Regions from separate parts of the Homo sapiens genome. Here regions 2, 3 and 4 are each linked to region 1. The links are contacts of gene promoters, found by promoter capture Hi-C in blood cells and fetal thymus (Javierre and others, 2016). All regions are on one chromosome and are shown on one strand. Each heading gives the region's core, a stretch centred on a gene start or on the middle of the fragment in contact. The rest is flanking DNA. Distances are from core to core; before and after follow the strand shown.

Region 1 (3,034 bases), core at 280-2,779:
GAGAAGGTAAGTTTTCCTCAGCCCTTCTAAGGGATTTTCCAGCTAGTGGTCTCCGTCATCAAGTTCTACTCTGTTGAATTCCTTCGGGGTTGGATTTTGTTTATAACAATAATTTTACTTTTTCTGAACGCCCTTTTAAAACGTCACACTGAGATCCACCAGAAGAGTAAGAATAACATTAGGCTTGTTTTTATAATTCATCCCAGACATCCCAAGTGAGAATTAAAAAAAAAAATTACTCATTTCTATTTTCCTTTCTCAAAAACACATTACAAAAAGATTGTAAAACAAAGTCTTGAGGGATTGATTAGTCAAGACAGGGGGTGAAACTCTTAAGAATCCAGTGGAATCAGGACAACCCAAACTTCCTTTGTAGAAGAGCATTTGCTATTAAGAGTGCTTAAAATATCAGAAGACTAGAGAGAGGAAAGAACAGATCTTCACCACATGCCTGTGACTTATTCTTCCACCCTGCACTAATCTTACAATGTGGGCTGCGGTTGGTCTAAAGCTTAAATCAACAAGTACTGTAAAGGTTTTAGAACAGTGCAGACCACACAGTAAGGTGCTCAGCAGGTACTGGCTGAATACTGTAATAGTCCCTGTAGATAAAAGCCACAAACCCTGTCCCTAAGTAGCTCCTTTTGGTTGGAGTGACTGACAAGCAACAATTACTTCACAGCGCTTATTAAGGGCTGAGATAGGGGTTAGCTCAAGTGTCTGTGGAAGCAGACCAGTGGGTCTCAAACTTTTTTTGTCTCTGGACCTCTACACAATATTTGTTACCACAAATAATGTATTTATGAAAAGCATATTTTCCAAATTAATAAAAGGGTGATATCTAAAATTTCTGCAGATTTCCTCAATGTCTGGCTTAATAGAAGATGGCTGGATTCTCTTATCTGTTTCTGCATTGAATCAGCTGCTATATGCTGTTTTGGTTGAAGGGTGGGAAGAAAATTTGGCCTTAGACACATGCTCCTGGCAAAGGAATGGAGGCTCTACTGAAAGGTCTTGGCGACCCCTCAGGGAAACCTGGGACCACATTCTGAAGACTGCTTACTGGATACCAAGAATGTTTCTTGGAGGTAGCAATTTGAGTCCTGAGGTAGATCAGCCATGTAGGGTGAGGGTAACGGAGGTAGTTAATGGTAAGGCTGCTGTGCCGAGCCAGCACAGATATTTGGGCAGAGGGCTCATCTACTCCATCCTATTCTACCATTCTTGAACTCACAGTCAATTAATAAAAAGTACCTGGGGTTGGGGAGCTGCGCATCAATATTATATTAACTGTGAAGCCTTAGTGCTTACTACGGTCGAGAAAAAGCGCTCCTCTGATTCGCCCCTCCCGGCGGCGCGGAGGTGTGAGCTAGAAGCCCGCAGGCGGTGCCGCGTCCTCCGAAGACAGGGAGGGGCGCGGCAACGCCGGGAAGCGCTGCAGCCCGGGGCCCCACGGAGGCGCGGCGCTCGAGGCCCTAAAGCGCGCAGGCGCGGCAGCGACGCAGGCCGCGGCCCCCGGAACGGTAAACAGTGGGGTCACGTGACACGGCCCCTCTCCAGCTCCCGCGCCGCCGCCGCACGCCGATGGCTGCGGGGTCTCGCGCCGTCGCACCGTCCCCACGCGGCAAGCGACCTTCGGGCTCAGGGCGGCGGCGGCTGCAACGAGGATTAGGAGGGCGGCGCGGAAGCCAAGAATAGTGTCGTCAGCAGCAGCCATTTGGTCCCAGGAGGAAAAGAGGCTGTGGCAGCGACGCCGACGTCCTGCGCGTACCCCCTCTCCGCGGCACCCACCGGGCCCCCTCCTCCTCCTCTTCGGCGGCGGCAGCGTCCACCATCTTCCTCTTGCTGCCAGTGGTAGCGCTCGTCTGGCGGAGCTGGGTGAGTTGCGGCTGTGGCCGCGGCCAGGGAGACGGGCAATCCTCCCCTCCCCCATCCCCTTCCACACGCACAGCGCCTCCGCGGGCCTCTCCGCCCCTCCCGCGGCGGACTCTCCGCGCTTTTCTCCCGCGCAGCCGAGAGATCGCCTCTCGGGCCTCTTGCGCAACGTCCTCGGCCTACCTGGGCCGCGCCGCTGGCGCCTGTGGACCATTTGGACCGCGGGCTGGGGAGGGAGTCGCAGCGACGCGGTCGCCAGGCGGAGGGTCGGGACCACGGCCTCTCTCCCGACCACTGGTACCCAGCCGTCTGCTGCGAGGGCGCCCCGCCGCCGCTGAGGCGCGGGCGCGCAGGCCCGAGGCACGGCGGGCGCTGCCTGGAAGGCCCGTCTCGCAGGCCCCCGGATCCGGCCGTTGGGGCCTCTTCCTTCTCAGGGAGCCCCAGCATGGAGCTTTGGGCCTTGGTTTCGGGAAACTGGGACTGGCCCTGGCTGCTAGGCTGCTCCCTGCTGCTGCTTTTTGGAGATGAGAGTTGCTCTTCCATTTATCCTCCAGTTACCGCGCGCTTTTGTGCCCGGGACTCAAACTGTGGACTCCTTTTGCTTAGTTTGAAATGAGAAGCCTAGACTCTTGCCTTCCGATAATACATGTAATTTAATGAACCACTTGTCGATACGTACGTGTTAATGGTGCTAAATAACTGATCACCTGACACGGGGGGCGGGGGCGGTGCGGAGAGTAGAAAGGAAGAGAATGTTGATATCGCGCACGGAGTCCTGTGTCCCTCCTTTCCCTCAGGATGTGTTGCCGGGTTAGGTGACCTTTTTCCATCTTTGGGCTTTTAAATGCCAATTCCTAGAGACTAGATTGGGGTGGTTATTAGTGCTTTCCAGTAGTCACGCGTAGAATATGTTCATGGATTAATGTTAAGTGGCAACACTGCTTTAATATTCTAGTCCTAATCTGCATTACATGTAGCGATATTTAATTTAAAAAGAATAATCGATTATTGAGGCTTCTCTAAATACTAACTTTACTATCTTATTTTAAGCTAAATTTAAAAACCAATGCAGTAAACTCTGTAGGGAGTACTTAAACAGTACGTTGTTGTATTTAGTTACTATTTTGGGGTCGAACTTGTCTTCCCTTTGACAAAATGA
Region 2 (3,034 bases), core at 319-2,818, 240 kb before region 1:
AGGATATTGAGCCTGATTCATTTTGTATCTTCTTGTGTTTCTATGTGTTCATTCTTAAACAAGTAATAGAAACTACACTCAGTCTAGAACATGTCAGTCTTATTTTGGCAAAACAATCCCACCGTCTTCTTCTGCATCTACCCTTGACCCCATTGCAAAATCTAGCACAATCTGATAACAGAAGAAGAGAACAAAAGAGAAAAATTTGAAGGAACTGTGTTTAACCTTAAGGAAAGCATGGCTTCTGTTTTGAACAATGGTCCTGTGTAGTTTCACTTAAATCTTATCTGTATACAAAACTCTTGGTTGCCACTCTGTGCTGTGAAACTGCTACATGGTTGCATTTCAATATTAAGTATGTAAGCCAGTGAGTAAACCAAACCATGATAGTTCATGAATCTACTAATGGAGACGATCATATCAGTACTATTATTCCAATACAGAAATTCAAAGGTAGTGCATACAGAAATAGAGATCATAAAATGCAGTCATTTTAAATTATTTTTTACACTAAAAATAATTTAGTCATTGTGCTCCAGACATTAAGTGCATTAATGTACATGCTTCAAAGTTTATCTCCTTTTTCTCTTCCTCCCCCATCCCCCACAAAAAAAAATGGTGAGAGAAAATTTTCTAGGTCTAATCTAAGCCTAAAGAAAACACACCTTTTGTGAATGCTAAGTAGGGAGATGTAGAAAATGAAGAGAAAAGACTCTAATGGTCTCAGAAACTGTATAAAGAATAATTCTACAGCTGAAGTATTTGGACACTTTCTTTCTTTCTTTCTTTTTTTTTTTTTTTTTTTTTTTTTTTTTGAGGCAGAGTCTCGCTCTGTCACCCAGGCTGGAGTGCAGTGGCGCAATCTTGTCTCACTGCAACCTCCTTCTTCCAGGGTCAAGCGATTCTTGTGCCTCAGCCTCCCAAGTAGCTGGGATTAAAGACATGCACCACCACTACTGGCTAATTTTTGTATCGTTAGTAGAGATGGGTTTTCACCATGTTGGCCAGGCTGGTCTCAAACTCCTAACCTCAGGTGATCCACCTGCCTTGGCCTCCCAAAGTGCTGGGATTACAGGTTTGAGCCATTGTGCCAGCCGGATTCCACAAATTTTGATCAACTATTATTTTCTTAGAATGCATGACCTATTGCCAAATTCACCACTTCATTGTCAGATTTTTTTTTATCAACAGGGAGGAGATTGTTACACAGGAATTGAATTTGTTTTATTGAAAATTGGAATCGGCCAGGCGCGGTGGCTCACGCCTGTAATCCCAGCACTTTGGGAGGCCGAGGCGGGCGGATCACGAGGTCAGGAGATCGAGACCATCCTGGCTAACACGGTGAAACCCCGTCTCTACTAAAAATACAAAAAAAAAGTAGCCGGGCGAGGTGGCGGGTGCCTGTAGTCCCAGCTACTCGGGAGGCTGAGGCAGGAGAATGGCGTGAACCCCGGGGGACGGAGCCTGCAGTGAGCCGAGATCACGCCACTGCACTCCAGCCTGGGCGACAGAGCAAGACTCCATCTCAAAAAAAAAAAAAAAAAAGAAAAGAAAATTGGAATTGAATTAGTTCAGATAATATCCTTAACTTTCTTATCTCTCTCCATTCACTTTCAATTATTTGAATTATAACAAGTTCCATTGGAAAGGATGCATACTTTTACCTTCTCTTTGGATAAAAGGTAATCTGAAATAAATTGATTGCTTCTGTTAAATAGACAAATAGAATTACTAAGTATTATCAGATCTCAAATAGCTCTAATAGAATATGTACACAGGTAAGACTCATTTAGCATTATTTAAAATCTCGTTTTTAAAAAATATGATAATGGAGACAAATTTGCTATTAAATAATTTATTTGCAATGTATAAATGTCCTTAGCAGTCAATCCTATTTGGGTTTGAGAAAAACATGACATTTTCAAGTTATCTTAGTTGGTGTAGGTCTAAAGATATGGAAGGGAAGTAAGAACCAAGAGGTTGTGTCTTAGCAACTACTCAGCCAGCAGCTGGAACTGTAGCTCATTCAGAATACACAATGTAGAGGACTGATAGCAGCTCTTACACTCAACAGCAACATCTGCAAAGATCCATGCATCTGTAAACTTCTGTTGCTTTTTCTGACAAGGATTCCCAACTTGTAAGTGGGTTGATTTCAGTCTCTGCTTGTACCTCTGTATCCTCCAACACTGTTCTCTCCACTTGCCTTCTCTCCACCTCAAGGTCTGTGTTAGCTTTTACTGTCTTGTGATTTCTGAAGCCTCAATGTGTCTCTAGTTCCTGCTCACTTAAGTTTCCCTCCAAATTCCCAAGGGAGATCTGCTTTACGGTTAGTCAACATCCAATATTGACCATTCTTGCTGGGCAGAGTTCAGTTACACTTCATGGGCTGATAGCGAGGCTTTTAGCTATCTCTGTCTCAAAGGTTAATCCTTGAACTAAGTCATTGCTGGTCCAGAAAAGCAGAAGTCACATGATGTAAAGCATAAGGGCCCTAGGAGCAGAGAAACACTCAGCTGTCTTTCATAGAAGAGGTCTTTGGACATGGAAGGACAATGAGCATGGGTTGACGCACAGAGCAACTTGGTCTCCTCTCCAGTATAAGTCTTCTTTTAAGGAATCAATGATATGAAAGTTTATTTTTAAAAATTACAAAACAACAACACTGGTTTCATCCTCCACCCCAAAATTCCAAGTAATTATAGTCATGTACTGTATAAAAACATTCTGGTCAACAATGGACCACATATAAAACAGTGGTCCCATAAGATTATAAAAGAGGAGGGGCATGGACCAGAAATCTGAGAGAGGTCAAAGACGCCCAGGCCAGGTGCCTCTCAGGTACTCATGTACTGATATGAAGTAGGAGGGGCGCAGTGCTAGAAGCCCCTTCCTCAGTGCTGCCAACCAGACACCCAGCCCATGGCAAACCCTGGCCTAGGGCTGCTCCTGGCCCTGGGCCTGCCTCTGCTGCAGGCCTGCTTAGGCCCAGCCTTGAGACAAACCTCCACAGCAGGGGCCCCTTCTGTAAATG
Region 3 (3,034 bases), core at 195-2,694, 230 kb before region 1:
CAAACAACCCCATCAAAAAAAAGTATTTCTATATACTAGCAGTAAATAATCAGGATTAAGTATTTTTAAATATCTTTGTTTTTCTTTGAGATGGAGTCTTACTCTATTGCCCAGGCTGGAGTGCAGTAGTGCAATTATAGCTCATTGCAGCCTCGAACTTCTGGGCTCAAGTGATCCTCCTGCCTCAGCCTCCCAAGTAACTAGGACTGTAGGTGCACACCATCACGCCCAGCTACTTTTTAAAATATTTTGTAGAGACAGGATCATGCTGTGTTAACCATGCTCATCTCAGATTTCTGCCCTCAAGTGATATTCCTGCCTTAGTCTCCCAAAGCACTGAGATTATAGGTGTGAGCCACCACACCCAGCCAAAAATATTTTTTGTAATGTCATAAATACATGAAACACTTAGGGATATATCTCAACAAAGATGTTAAGTGTTTCTTTAGATTAATGTAATCTTTCTTTAGATATATTAATAACCACAAAATGTAATCTAGTCAGTCTATTCAGGCTTTTTAAGATAGTTTTACATATATCTAAACTTCTTGATCAAGTATTTTAAGAAATTTTTACATATATCTAAACTTCTTGATCAAGTATTCACTTTACACAATTGTTACAAACAACCAATTTATATTTTGCTAAGTTTTAACTATTTCTAACCATTATGGTAGTCCTTAAATACCAGATTTGGGGTCAGATGACCTTATTTTAAATTTCAGCTCTGACAGTTAATAGCTGTATAATTTAAGACAAAAATTCTGATATTTCAGATCTCAGTTTCTGCATTTATAAAATTGGGATAATAATACTTAATAGCTCAGATGGCCTTGTGTTTTTATACAAACAGACTTTTTTGCTACATGATTTGGGTCATGTTAAATATTTCTAGTCTTTAGTTATTACCTCAGCCGGGTGTGGCAGCTCACACCTGTAATCCCAGCACTTTGGAAGGCCGAGATGGGCAGATCACTTGAGGTCAGGAGTTCAAGACCAGCCTGGCCAACATGGCGAAACCTCATCTCTACTAAAAATAGAAAAATTAGCCGGGCATGGTGGTGGGTGCCTGTAATCCCAGCTATTCGGGAGGCTGAGGCAGGAAGAACTGCTTGAACACAGGAGGCGGAGGTTGCAGTGAGCCAAGATAGTGCTACTGCACTTCAGCCTGGGCAAAAGAGCAAGACTCCATCTCAAAAAAATTAAAATAAAATAAAATAATAAGGTATTACCTCATCTATAAAATAGTACCTGTCTCTTAATATGGCTATGAAGATATGACATAAAATATTTAAAATGATTTAGAATAGTACCTGGCACTCAATACATGTTATCCTTTATAATGTTCACAAAAACGGGTACAGGTTTGACACATACAAAGTTTCATAATGTTTGTGGCTATAAGTCTTGTTTCCTATTATCTATAATTGGTCCATTCTAAACTCAGTAAAGTGTACATATTAGTCAAAATGTTTTGACTTTTTGTAGACATTCATTTAATCAAAAGTGGGACTCTATAATATTATAAAATTGAGTAAAGTCTTTATGGAATGTTTATATTAATTTTTAGTACGACTCTGAAATGAGATACCTGAGATCATTAGTTTTTTAAACTTTATTTAGCAGCAGAAACTTTTTTCAAATAAAATCTTATTCAGATCAATATATAAATATATATCAATGGTATAAAGCCAATAAAAGTTTTTCAGTTGAACTATAAACCCACAAGGCTAACACAATTTGGGCATTTATTATGTGCTAGGTGCAATTCTAAAATTACACTAAAGCCAGTATTGGCTCTGGGGCTTCTTTCTTGGAACCATAAAGTGCAATGAACGCAGTTTAAAACCTGCTCCTTGGAAATTGTTAAGCTATTCAAGGACAAGAACCTATGACATGTGTTTTAACCAAGTATTTAGTATGGTATTGGGCACTTAATAGGTGTTGAAACAATTTTGGTGGACTTGAGTAGCACAGAAAAAGCTCATGAAATCTTAATGACCCCACATGCTGGTAAATGGTTGCTGCCTCATGCTCCAAACATACCACTTCCTCAGGTCAAAACCAGTTTTTTTCCAATTCCTAAGCAACGAGGTTTGGCATAAAGCTAGGCCAGAAATGTCAGTACAGGCTATTTCTTGGGGATATTTAGAGACACCTACTGAGTTAGTAGGAAATGTAAATTGTGCCTAAATTTATCAGGATTATTTCTCAGACACACAACTACAGTTCATCTCATCTCCAAAGTAGCCTCAGGACTCCAGAAATACTCCAAGGGCCTCTTCCTAAAATTGACTAGAAATTTTGCCAGCTCTCTAAAGAATAATATTGACTGTCCCAAAGATCTCTTGGTCAAAGTCTATATTCGTGATTTGGAATTTTCCCAAGCACCAGGAATTACGCTGTGAGCTAACATTTACGCAGACATTCTCCCAGTTACTTTCAGTTTTCGGTTTTGTTAGTTATCAAGTAAAGGGGATAGCAGGTAAGGAGAAAGTAGGCAAGGGCATCAGAGATAAGTTACACTAGGACATAGCCTTGGCTTGTGTGTCATCTTCTTTCTACATGCCATATCTCCTCCATTACTGAATTTTAAGATCTGTCCTTGAAGACAGAGACTTGATCTATAGTTCTATTGCGCTGCTCACACTATTAATGGTAATAATAATAAAATTAATTTTTATTGAGGCCTTATGAAGTGCTTAATATTGTGCTAAGGCCAGGCATGGTGGCTACACCTGTAATCCGAGTACTTTGGGAGGCCGAGAAGGGAGGATCCTTTGAGCCCAGGAGTTTGAGCTAACCAAGACAACATGGTCAGACTCTGAGTCTACAAAAAATAAAAAATATTAGCTGGATGTGGTGGTGTGCACCTGTAGTCCCAGCTACTCAGGATGTTGAAGCACAAGAATCCCTTGGGCCCAGGCTGAGGTTGGTTGGGGCTGCACTGAGTCATGATGGTCCCCCTGCACTCCAGCCTGGGTGACAGAGTGAGACCCTGTCTCAAAAAAGAAAAAAAATTGTGCTAAAATAC
Region 4 (3,034 bases), core at 299-2,798, 160 kb before region 1:
TTTTATATATCTTATACTGTAAAGATTTATGGAGTCAAATACATAGCTATTCACTGAACCTACCTAAATTTGAAGAGTTCCAGTTTAGTTGACTGTCTAATTTAAGTTAAACCAAAAAGGCTATTAGAGCAAAGAGGGAGGATTTTAAGAGGTTAGTAAATTATTAAGCCAAAAAATGTTTAAAATGTATAAATGGGTAATAGACAAATCCACAGTGACAGAAAGTACGTTAGTGGTTGCCAAGGACTGGGGGAAGCACAGTGCGGAGTGACTGCTAATGGATACATGGTTTCTTTTTGGGGGTGATGAAAATGTTCTGGTAACTAAGTACAACTCTTCATGTATTGCTTTCCCTAATACTCCTGTGGGCCCTAGGACGTTCTGAAAAAAAAAAATCTAAATTTCCATCATCCACCCTAAATAAGTTGAGTTACATCACCCAGGTGGGGTTGTGAGAGGTAAGCTGAAAAGAAGTATTCTGAGGAACAAAGAGCCAAAAATAATCCCTAGCTGAAAATGCTGCCTCACCACCCCCATGTACGGCTCATTCTAATCATATAGACGATCATCAGTTCATCCTACTCTAAAGATTCAAGAATTTAAACTTATTTCCTCAAAGAAAACTGCAAATATCAAAGACAAGCTTGAGTAAATAATTAAGGTGTTTATTGGTTTATGAACTAGAAATTCAAAAGGTAGGGTGTGCTTTAAGGTTGGTTTGATGCAAGAGTTCAGTGATTTTATCAAAGACTTAATTTTTCCTCTCTCAGCTTTTCCTTCTACAGTGTCAGCTTATTCCAAGGTTTACAACCTTCATGATACCACAGTGGTTACAATGGTTCCAAGCTTACAGAGACGTATAAAAGGATACAGACAAGAGAGAACATGTCTTTCAGTTGTACTCTCAGAAGAGCCAAGAAACACTTTTCCCAAAAATCCCTTTATCCATAACTCACTGGTCTGTCTGGAGACAGGAGTCCATTTCTGACAGAGAAATGCTAACTTAACTGGTTAGATTAGACAACCCAGGCCTCAACCAATCACTGCATCAAGGGAGATGGGCTTACTGAGATTGGCTTTGGTCAATCACAGTCCATTTCTGGTGATCAACTGCTTTCAAAGCGTATCAGCAAGGGAGACCCAGATGAAAATTTAAGTACTCTTAGGCAGGGGAAAGGAAGTAATAGATGCTGGAAAGACAAACAACATTCACTATAATTTTTCTGGCCTATCGATGAAAATATATCTAGTAAAGTAGACAAAGTGAAGTAGGAGGTACAGTAACAACTTCTTTTTTTTTTTTTCTTTTCAGCAATGGAATGTTAGAGCTAAATGAAATCCTAAAATGTACCCAAGGCTGGGCTCAGTGGGTCACGCCTATAATCCCAGCATTTTCAGAGGCCGAGGCTGGCGGATCTCGAGGTCAGGAGATCGAGACCATCCTGGCCAATATGGTGAAACCCCGTCTCTACTAAAAACACAAAAAAATTAGCTGAGCATGGTGGTGGGCACCTGTAGTCCCAACTACTCAGGAGGCTGAGGCAGGAGAATGGCATGAACCCGGGAGATGGAGATTGCAGTGAGTCGAGATCATGCCACTGCACTCCAGCTTGGGCGACAGAGTGAGACTCCGTCTCAAACAAACAAACAAACAAACAAAAAGTGCTCAATTTGAACTCCTCATTTTATAGATGAAGAATCTGAGACTCTGTTTAATTGATTTGGCCATACTTACAAAGTCTAAATCACCTATTTCCTAATCATTCAGTCATTTATCAGCAATTGTTTATCAAGCACTTACTATTTGCCAGGTACCTCTCTAGTCACTGGAGATACAGGAGGGAATAAAACAAAGCAAAACTGTGCCTTCATGAAGTCCACATTTTAGTGGGGGCCTTTTCTCTAAGGTCATTACTCCCACTCACTCTTTACAACAACCCCAGGCACCCTGTTTCCTCTCTTAGTGCTAGGCATTCACAACCTGTGTTCCTTCCTTTTGCTGCTACCCAGCTCTCAGATGCAGCTGATGCCATGGGTTTCAGAGACCTGAAAAGCCCCACTGGCCTCCAGGTGCACAATGGTTACCTGGCTGACCAGAGCTGCAACAAGGGGTATGTGCCATCACAAGCAGACGTGGCAGTAATTGAAGCAGTCTCCAGTCCATTGTCCGGTAATTTGTGTCATGCTCTACATTGGTATAATTACATCAAGTCTTACGAAAAGGAAAAAGCCAGCCTAGCAGGAATGAAGAAAGCTTTGGGCAAGTATGGACCTGCTAATGTGGAAGATAGTAGAGGAAGTGGAGCTACAGATAGTGAAGATGACAATGACATTTATCTATTTGGATTTGATAAGGGGGAGGAAAGCAAAGAATCAAAAAGGCAAAGGGAAGAATACCCTGCATAGTATGAATCAAAGAAAGCCAAAAAAAAAACCTGCCCCTGTTGCCATCTTTCATCTCACTAGATGTGAAACCTTGTGATAATGAGACAGATATGACAAAATTAGAAGAGTGTCATTAAAAAGTCAAAAAGCAATAGATTTTGGCATGGATGTGGTGAAAAGGAAACACTTAACACATTGCTGGTGGGAATGCAAATAAGTACAACCTCTATGGAAAACAGTATAGAGATTCTTTAAAGAACTGAAAGTAAATTTACCATTTGGTCCAGCAATTCCACCTCTTGGTATCTACCCAAAGGAAAAGAAGTCATTATATGAAAAAAAAAAAAAAAAACTTGCACACATATTTTTATAGCAACATAATTACAATTCACAGCTGCAAAGATGTGGAACCAACCTAAGTGCCCACTGACTAATGAGTGGATAAAGAAAATGATATATATATATATATATATATATATATATATATATATATATATATACACACACACATACATACATACATACATACATACCATGGAATACTACTCAACCATGAAAGGGAATGAATGTCTTTTGCAGCAACTTAGATGAAGCTGGTGGCCATTATTCTAAGTGAAGTAACTCAGGAGTGAAAAACCAAAAAACCGTG

Evidence for each region. Contacts are between HindIII fragments. The CHiCAGO score rates a contact against its expected background, and 5 or more counts as called.
Region 2: a fragment that was not itself captured here is called in contact with the fragment with the promoter of PHF3 in region 1 in 2 of 17 cell types (neutrophils and monocytes); the score reaches 6.0 in neutrophils.
Region 3: a contact is called between a fragment that was not itself captured here and the fragment with the promoter of PHF3 in region 1, in 1 of 17 cell types (monocytes). The highest score is 6.2, in monocytes.
Region 4: a contact is called between a fragment that was not itself captured here and the fragment with the promoter of PHF3 in region 1, in 1 of 17 cell types (non-activated CD4 T cells). The highest score is 5.3, in non-activated CD4 T cells.

Annotation. Positions count from the first base shown.
Region 1 is chr6:63,634,273-63,637,306 of GRCh38, forward strand. It overlaps PHF3 (PHD finger protein 3), which reads left to right and starts at 1,530. Exons shown (of 16, transcript NM_001370348.2): 1 at 1,530-1,878. RefSeq lists enhancers at 218-755, 1,287-2,107 and silencers at 1,325-1,684, 2,125-2,304. The HindIII fragment of the contact is 3,030 bases long and covers 510-3,034 here.
Region 2 is chr6:63,389,333-63,392,366 of GRCh38, forward strand. It overlaps a transcript of LGSN not described here. Among named protein-coding and RNA genes, the nearest start is that of LGSN, 71 kb to the left of the region's middle. RefSeq lists an enhancer at 232-321. The HindIII fragment of the contact is 3,198 bases long and covers 1-3,034 here.
Region 3 is chr6:63,408,842-63,411,875 of GRCh38, forward strand. It overlaps a transcript of LGSN not described here. Among named protein-coding and RNA genes, the nearest start is that of LGSN, 90 kb to the left of the region's middle. The HindIII fragment of the contact is 5,935 bases long and covers 1-3,034 here.
Region 4 is chr6:63,478,103-63,481,136 of GRCh38, forward strand. It overlaps a transcript of LGSN not described here and the pseudogene EEF1B2P5. Among named protein-coding and RNA genes, the nearest start is that of PTP4A1, 93 kb to the right of the region's middle. The HindIII fragment of the contact is 1,408 bases long and covers 845-2,252 here.